2 separate regions of the Homo sapiens genome follow, and region 1 is linked to region 2. The links are contacts of gene promoters, found by promoter capture Hi-C in blood cells and fetal thymus (Javierre and others, 2016). All regions are on one chromosome and are shown on one strand. Each heading gives the region's core, a stretch centred on a gene start or on the middle of the fragment in contact. The rest is flanking DNA. Distances are from core to core; before and after follow the strand shown. Region 1 holds the start of ACVR2A (activin A receptor type 2A). Region 2 holds the start of RBM43 (RNA binding motif protein 43).

Region 1 (4,291 bases), core at 736-3,235, 3.4 Mb after region 2:
GCTGTAAGATCTGTAGCGACAGCCTGCTTTTCAAGAAGTAATACCTTGAGACTGCTCAAGAATAACCTCCTTCATCAATTAGTGTGACTCAGGTGGGTTTGAGAGGGAATAATGTCCACAATTCCTTGGTCAGTGGCCATGATGCCCCTCCTCCTCAAGGGCAAGAGATCAGAACAAGGGATTTGAACAAGAGGAGTTCACCAGCCACAACATATAGAAGCAGAGGAAAAAAGAGTACTACTGGAAAGATAAAAACTACATGGTTAAGTCATGTCACAAAAGCAAGAGGTTTAATGTTATCAAGGCCTTCATTCATTTCAGACACACCATTGTTTAGCTTCCTTCCCAAACCGTGCACAAAAAGAACTGTCAGCCTGCCTTAAGCATGTTCCTTCTTCCATTTAAACAGACATGATTCTTTTGGTTAATCTCTGGCAATGATCGCCATTTCACAACACATTCAGCCCACCCGGAACTGATCAATACCACTACAGACATAAGACTAGACTTTATCCATTTATTAACCACAAGGAAATGTACCATTCAGCAAAATTCTATACATTACAAAAGATTATATTTAAAGGGGGGTGGGGAAGACGGACACAAACACACAAACACACACACACACACCCCACAGAGGTACACAAAGAAGACTACCACCCTTTAATTTTCCTGTGGCAAACGAGATAAAGACATGGCCATGAAACCTGTCAATTCGCCCCCGTTTCCAAGAGTCCCCCGTAATTCTATGCCACAAGCTTGTAACTGAATATTAAATTTTACAATAAATAGATCCAATGAGACTTATTTAAAATGTTTCATCTATTGAACTAACTCTCCTGTTATGTACATCTGCACACCTTTCAGCTAGATGCTGTATTTATTTATAGAATTTCAAATACAAAAGACTAGATAGTTTTTCCAACCACTGGTTGCAACCATAGAACGTCCTCACAAAATCAAAATTTCCAATATAAAATGGCCCGTTTATTCCCCCAACCTTGAGCTAAAACCTATTTTATGAGTGTACTATATTTAACAAAAACAATTTCACATGGGTTGTTCTAAACCGAAAACAATGCTTCAATACAAAGCGTTTAAAATAAGTATTCCGTAGGTAAGCAAAATCTATGCCCCAAAAGAGCACACAAATGGTGGTTGAACGCCAGCACATTACCAATACCAAGCGGCATACCTCTTCTGCACTGGGTTATAGTTAATACTCCAACAACAACTACAACTATTTTTAACACTGCTGGACGCTGAAGTTGAAGAAAACGTGAGGGGAGACCCAGATTAAATTGCTGATAGGATGTATTGTTTCCCACAGCCAAAATTAAGCAGCAACTGGCTTGATCTATGTCGTGATATTCACCGGTGAAGCACTAATTAAACGATGACAAAAAGCAACCCTTGTTTTGGAGGAGCCCACACTAAATACTCCTTTCAGATCTCAACCTTTGCATAAATTGTCACTTGTGGTATTTGCGGCTTAATTGCAACCCAACCAGCGCTGTCATCCAGTGTTATGGCCACAAAACATGACTTTCTCACTTCCACAACAACACAGCACTCACTCTTATCAGCTCGCCGACCCAACTCAAAAAGAGAAAAATGCATGGAGGTTTCCAGATCACAATCAGACCTGGGGGCGGGGGGGGGGGGCGGTGGCAGCCGAGGGGCGCAGGGAGTGGGCAACCTCCCCAGGCTCCACTGGACTCTCCGACTCAACACCAGCCGCGGCCCCCAGCAGCGGCCGCCGCGGCCGCAGGAGCAGCCCCACCGCGCCGCGCTCCCTGCACCTACCTGAAGAACAGGAGATAAGAAAGACGGCAAACGCCAACTTTGCAGCAGCTCCCATTTTCCCGAGGCGCCGGGGAATCCGGAGGAAGTTCTCGCTAGATATCCAGTTCCCTGGGTCTTCCTCGGAGACAAACCTCCTGGTGTAAAATCAACCGTCATAAAACATATTCGGAAGCCCAGACCAAAAAAAAAAAAAAAAAAAAAAAAAAACGCTCACTGGGTTAAAAAAAAAAAAGAAAAAAAAGAGCACAACGATAAAAAATAAAATGCACCACGGGGGAAAAACCGCCACACACACGCACAACACACAAAACCAAACAACGAAAAGCCAACAACAACAAAAGCGGGTTTAAATCACTGTCAAAATCACTGTCAGCTCCGCTCGCCTCTCCCGTCTCTCGGAACAAAACGCCAGGCTGAGGCGACGAAGAGGCGGCGGCGGCAGCGGCGTCCGCTGCCGCCCGGACAGTCTGGGAACTGACTGGGTCCGATGTCCGGACCGACCTTCAACCCAGACACCTAAAGTCCGAGGACCACTGGCGGCCGAGCTCGCGGCGGTGGCGGCGAGGCGGCTGCGGCGCGGGGAAGGGGCGGCGGGCGGCAGCGGCGGCGGCGGTGCAGGCGGCGGCCAAGTTCTGGTCCAGGCTCTGGCTCCAGCTCCGGGCTCCGGGCTCGGCCGCGTTTTCGGTCTCCTGGCCTCCGCCGGGCTCCGCCCCCCAAACTTCCGGTTCCGGCCCGAAGCTGGAAGCCAGGCGCAGCGGAGGAACGCTCGGCGGCAGCGGCGGCGGCGGCGGCGGCGGCAGCGGCGGCCGGGCGCAGCGCGCGTGCCGGGCCGGGAGCGCGAGGAGATTGTCGGGGAAGCGAGGCGGGAGCGGGGGAGGGGTGAGAGAGCGAGGGCGGGGCGGAGTGGAGGGCGAGGAGGCGGGGCGGACGGAGGCTCGATACCGCGAGGCCTCGGCGTCCGGCCTGCTTGGGCTAGAGATACCGCGACAAAGGGGCGCGGGCGCCTCAAAGTCCCTAAGCTGTGGCTGGGCTGTGGCCGGGCGAGTAGATGCGGGCTAGGCCGGGCACGACCCGTTTCCAAATCGCGTCCGACGGGCCTGTCTGGAGCGCCCACCCAAAGGGTCAGGAGAAGCCCAAGAGGAAGAGGACCCCGAGGTGGGGCGAGTGGCCAGGGACTTCTCCAAGGGGCGTCTGCGGCGCCCAGTCTTTCCTCTGGGGGGACGCCTCGTCCGCTCTGATACCGAGGAGTCGGTGGAAGGCGGACGTGGGAGCTGTTTCGCCGCGCCCGCCGAGCTGCCCAGGCGAGCTCGCGACGCGCGAGCTGGTGTGTGCGCCCCCAGACTTAGCACTGCGTCCCACCGCTGCAGCTTCTGCACACGCGTGCTGTCTTGGTGACTAGAAAAGAAAAAGAAAAAACTCACGGAGGAAGGGCTGTCCACCCGCTCAGGATATTCACGCCATTTATCACGATGCGCAACTTGAATCCATTCCCGCCGTTCCTTTTACACACAAAGCATTGTGTTGAAAACTGTTTTGCACGTAATAGGTGCGCAAATACTTGTTTACTGCGCTTTGAAGAAAAAAATGAGGATTTCGAACGACATATTTGATGATCAGACAAGTGATTACTTGTCAAAATTTTAGCTATTTAAGGGCCTGTTTTTACCCCTTAATCCATGTCGATTGCTTACAAGCTGGTGTGCTAGGCACGGAATGGGATCCAACAGGTAAAAATAGGATGGATCCCTACCTCAAGTAGCTTTTAGTATTTGCTGTATTCAGTTGGTTGCAGAATACAAACTAGAGACTATTGAAGGTAGTTGCTCTGTCATTTACCACACTTTAGTGAGCTTCGTGAAGGTAGAGATCTTGATTTTTTCCTTATTTTATTCCAGCACCCAGAAGTATCAACTAGCACATAAGTGCTTAATAAATAATTGTATAAATGACTAAGGGATGACTGCCTTTCTCTTAAATACAGTCTCTGTTAATGTACTCTACAAAGTTTTGGTTTTTAATAAAACAACTGTATAATATGGCTAATTCATGTTTCATTTGTGGTTTACTGATTCCCACCTTTTCCCACAAAGCCAAGTCTTCTCACTTATATTTACAGCAGTTTACTTCCTCTAAATTACTCTGTATTTCTGTCTATTAAGTTCATCCTGTAATTATCTGCCCATTTCTACAACTTATCAGGGTTATTAATAATCAACGTGGCTCTTTAAATCTCTCCAAGATTGCCAGTTCTCAAATCGTGATGCTCAGAATTTGACTGATGTTGGAACAGTTACAAAGTCCCAAGTCGGTATTAAAGGTGTCTGAATGATCTCATGTAGTTCTCCTATCTTTATGAGTTGGTCAAAGGAATATGTGTAAGCCTTCCATTTTCTGGTTGAATTAAGAGTTGTACTAACGGTTCTGGAATGGAAGAGTATATTTTACTCTAGAAACACTTGAAGTTCATTAGAGAATTTGATGTCAG
Region 2 (3,841 bases), core at 6-2,505:
CTAACACTTTCTGGTTTTGCAGATCTAGTTGTGAAAAATGGTATCTTATTATTTCAATTTACATTTCTTAGGAGTGGGATTGGGTTTCTTCATATCTGCTAGCCATCTACCTTTGTTCTTCATGCATTCATTGATTTGATTTTGAAGTTTGTCCAGAGATTCCCTGTGTCCCCACAGGCGCCATTCGGGGTTCCTGTGCTAAGGCATGGACAAGGTGGTGAGCTCTCTGCTGGCAGGGACCTGGCGCTCTCATCCTGTGTCCTTAGCACCCGGCAGAGGTCCAAGAGGGCTCCTGGTCTGGGCTGGGAAGGTGACCAACACGGCGTTGGGGGTTGAGGTGGGGGTTGGGGAACTGGGGTAGGTTGTGCAGAGGAAAAGGCCCAGGTGAGCGGTGGGGGAAGGGGAAGAAGTCTGGACAGATAATAAGGGCGTAGGAAAGACATCCAGATTTCACTGAGTGCAGGGCTTTTTAAAACTGATGTTAGAAAAACTTGATTTGCTGTTGTAAAAAACCATCTGTGTGAAGTAGAAATTGATATCAATAACATGATAGAGAATACGTTCTAAAAAGTAAAGGTAGCTGGATGTAAAATTCTGGCAGAAGTTTAATATCCTAGATGGTTAGTTTGAGGCCAGCAACTAATGAGGATAAAAGCCTTCTCCATGGAAAATTTTGGACAGTTATCTGGAGAAATATTACAGTGCGCATCAACCAAATTGAAATGTTTTCAAAAGTGTTGTAAAGTTTCATGTAGTAAAAAGGTTTTAGCCACATGCCCTTCAATTTCATGGCATCGAATATATAAACACAGAAGAGAGCATGCATGCAAGATATTTAACTCCCTTACATGATAATGCATGCGATTCAAAACTATCATGACATCTAGGGCTCTCTGCAACTACGAGATGATTGATGTTAGGAAAAGCGTAGCCCCCCAGTATCAACACAGGAAGCGGCCACCACCTACTATGTGTTTTCCCTTTTTGCGTTTTTTCTTTTTTTAAATCAACTCTGCCGTTGTTGCTGCTGCTTAGCAAAACGGGTAAAAACAAAATTGCAATCACTGATGCATCACCCAGAGAATTCCCAAATTTCCTGTCGAGGAATCCTCTCGGCCTCTCTCCAGAGTGCTTCCACAAGTTGCAAAACTACGGAGGGCGTCTGGGCAGGCGCTGGCAACAGCACTCCTGAGTCCGAGCTCCCACTCAGAGGCCACGAGGTCGCAGAACAGCCGGATCGGGTGGAAGGACCGCCCTTTTCTTCGTAGCCTCCAAGGGAGCTGGAACAAAAAACGAAACCAAAACCTGCCTGCTCGCTCCTCTCCCCATCGCCTGCGTTCCGCTGGTTGTGGGCTTTCTGCGGCCGCTGAGGGCGCGTCTCCCCTCCGCCATGGCAAGTTGCTTTTGCTTTGGGTTTTGCGGTGCAGGTCCGTGCCTGTACCGTCGCCATGGTCCCCTAGAAGGGCGCGGAACCGGGCGCGACGGGCCAGGGTGCAGGGCTGCGCGGGAGGGGGCGGCGCACGGAGGGGCCCCAGGGACCCCGGGGGCCCCGGAGAGCCGTCCACCCCGGCGGGCAAACTCAGGTCAGCCTCGCTGCACCCTTCCCAGGTGGCGGCATTGCGCGCTCCTGAAATTCACGTACGGCGGTGCAGTATAGGCCCGCTCCAGAGGCTCAGGACTAGGCTGTCACCTCCCACACCCACTGCCCAGGCGACGGGGACGCCGCCGTTCGTCGAGGAGCTGCTTCGCAGGCTGTTAGGGCTTAACTGTTGTCCTCCCACGCCTCGGGGGGAACAAAAGTGGCCTGATTAGCCAGAAATGGAGGTCACAGCTGCCTTTTGAAAAGGGCTAATAAGAACGATTCGAGCCAAGGACGCAAGTCAGGAAGACATCCTCATGTCTTATGTCTGCCTTGGTGCGAATTCTTGTCTTAGCAAATTCAAAATTTATCCTTCTGTGTTTTGTTTTGTTTCCATCAATCGCTTAAAAGCCTTGGCAAGGCCTTTAATTCCTGCTCTGAAATGCTAGAGTCCCGGAAATGCAAAAGCAAGTACGTTTTTGTTGACCTGGTGGCGGTAGAGGCGTCGTCATTGAAAATAAACAACTGATTTTGAGAAAATCAATATAAACAAATGCAGTCAATGAATCTTCTGTTTCTTCCCAATGCCTTACTTACAAAAGTAAAGTTTTGCTATATACTTTTTGCTTTCTGATAAGATGGCCAAGTCTGTTATAACACAATACTGATGCAAGGAAATGCGCCATCACGTTAGTATGTCTTGGCTAAAAGCTGCTCGTTTCAAAGTCCTTGAAAGGACTGTCTTTCTCTAGGCATTTCTTTATCTTAATCGTGGGTAGAAGAGATGAACAACCCTCATTATTCATAATTGACCTCAGTAAAATTATCTATGTTAGCCATACTTTCTCCAACCTATGAAAGGGAGTTAAGGACAAATATTGGCAAGTCATTGAAGTACTAATTCATTAGATGATTCATAGAAACTAGTTCTTACCAAACAAAATTTACATCTTTATGTTTTTTTCTTCTAAAAATACTGGTTCAGGGAGAAGTTTCTTTGATTTTAAAGATAAATTACCAGTAGACATTCGAATAAAGAAATATGGTATTAGTACTAATGAGGGCATAGAGCTGAAGTAAGATTTCCTGAGTTTAAATTGATTGCATGTTTTTCTTTGATATTGTTGGGGTGCAGAAAATGATCTCCCTGCCCGGCACGGTGGCTCACGCCTGTAATCCCAGCACTTTGGGAGGCGAAGGAGGGCGGATCACTTGAGGTCAGGAGTCTCTACTAAAAATACAAAAATTAGCTGGGCGTGATGGCATCCACCTGTAGTCTCAGCTACTGGGGAGGCTGAGGTGGGAGGATCACTTGAGCCCAGGAGGCGGAGGTTGCAGGGAGCCAAGATCACGCCATTGTTCTCCAGCCTGGGCAACAGAGCGAGGCGCTGTCTAAAAAAAAAAAAAGACTTCGAGAGGCCGAGGGGGGAGCGGATCACGAGGTCAGGAGTTTGAGACCAGCCTGGTCAACATGGTGAAACCCCATCTCTACTAAAAATACAAAAATTAGTCGGGCATGGTGGCTGATGCCTGTAGTCCCAGCTACTCAGGAGGCTGGGGCAGGAGAATCGCTTGAACCCGGGAGGTGGAGGTTGCAGTGAGCCAAGATCGCGCCACTGCACTCCAGCGTAGGTGACAGAGCTAGACTCCATCTCAAAACAAACAAACAAACAAAAAACAAGAAAAGAAAAAGATCTCCCAAAAGAAATAAAAACAAATGCAGTGAGTGAATCTTCTATTTCTCCCTAGTGCTTCACTTAGAAAAATAAAGTTTTTCTTTATGCCTTTTTTGCTTTCTGATATGATGGCCCTGCCTTTATTCTTACATTGACAGGGTTGAGCATTTCTGTTTTTTTGTAACCATATTTAAATTTTCAATGTTTTTATTTTTATTTTTTTTGAGACAGAGTCTCACTCTGTCACCCAGGCTGGAGTGCAGTGGTGCGATCTTGGCTCACTGCAACCTCCACCTCCTGTGTTCCAGCCATTCTGGTTCCTCAGCCTCTGGAGTAGCTGGGATTACAGGCGCCTGCCTCCACTAATTTTTGTATTTTTAGTAGAGATGGCGTTTCACTATGTTGGCCAGGCTGATCTCGAACTCCTGACTTCAAGTGATCTGCCCACCTCATCTTCCCAAAGTGTTGGGATTACAGCCGTGAACTACTGCACCTGGCCTTTTTTAAGACTTAGCAGGTTTGGTCTAAAGGTGAAAAACCGATAATAATGTAAACAGTAAATATTGTTTATAGCAGGTCCCAATAG

Evidence for each region. The method cuts DNA at HindIII sites, captures the fragments that hold promoters and counts their contacts. A CHiCAGO score of 5 or more calls a contact.
Region 1: the fragment with the promoter of ACVR2A here is called in contact with the fragment with the promoter of RBM43 in region 2 in 1 of 17 cell types (total B cells); the score reaches 5.2 in total B cells.

The regions. Positions count from the first base shown.
Region 1 is chr2:147,842,723-147,847,013 of GRCh38, reverse strand. It overlaps ACVR2A (activin A receptor type 2A), which reads right to left and starts at 1,985. Exons shown (of 11, transcript NM_001616.5): 1 at 1,807-1,985. The coding sequence starts at 1,861. RefSeq lists silencers at 1,544-1,623, 2,379-2,488, 2,569-2,758 and an enhancer at 2,885-3,635. The HindIII fragment of the contact is 3,923 bases long and covers 761-4,291 here.
Region 2 is chr2:151,259,277-151,263,117 of GRCh38, reverse strand. It overlaps RBM43 (RNA binding motif protein 43), which reads left to right and starts at 1,255. Exons shown (of 4, transcript NM_198557.3): 1 at 1,255-1,393. The coding sequence starts at 1,391. RefSeq lists an enhancer at 1,172-1,401 and a silencer at 1,442-1,711. The HindIII fragment of the contact is 8,034 bases long and covers 1-3,841 here.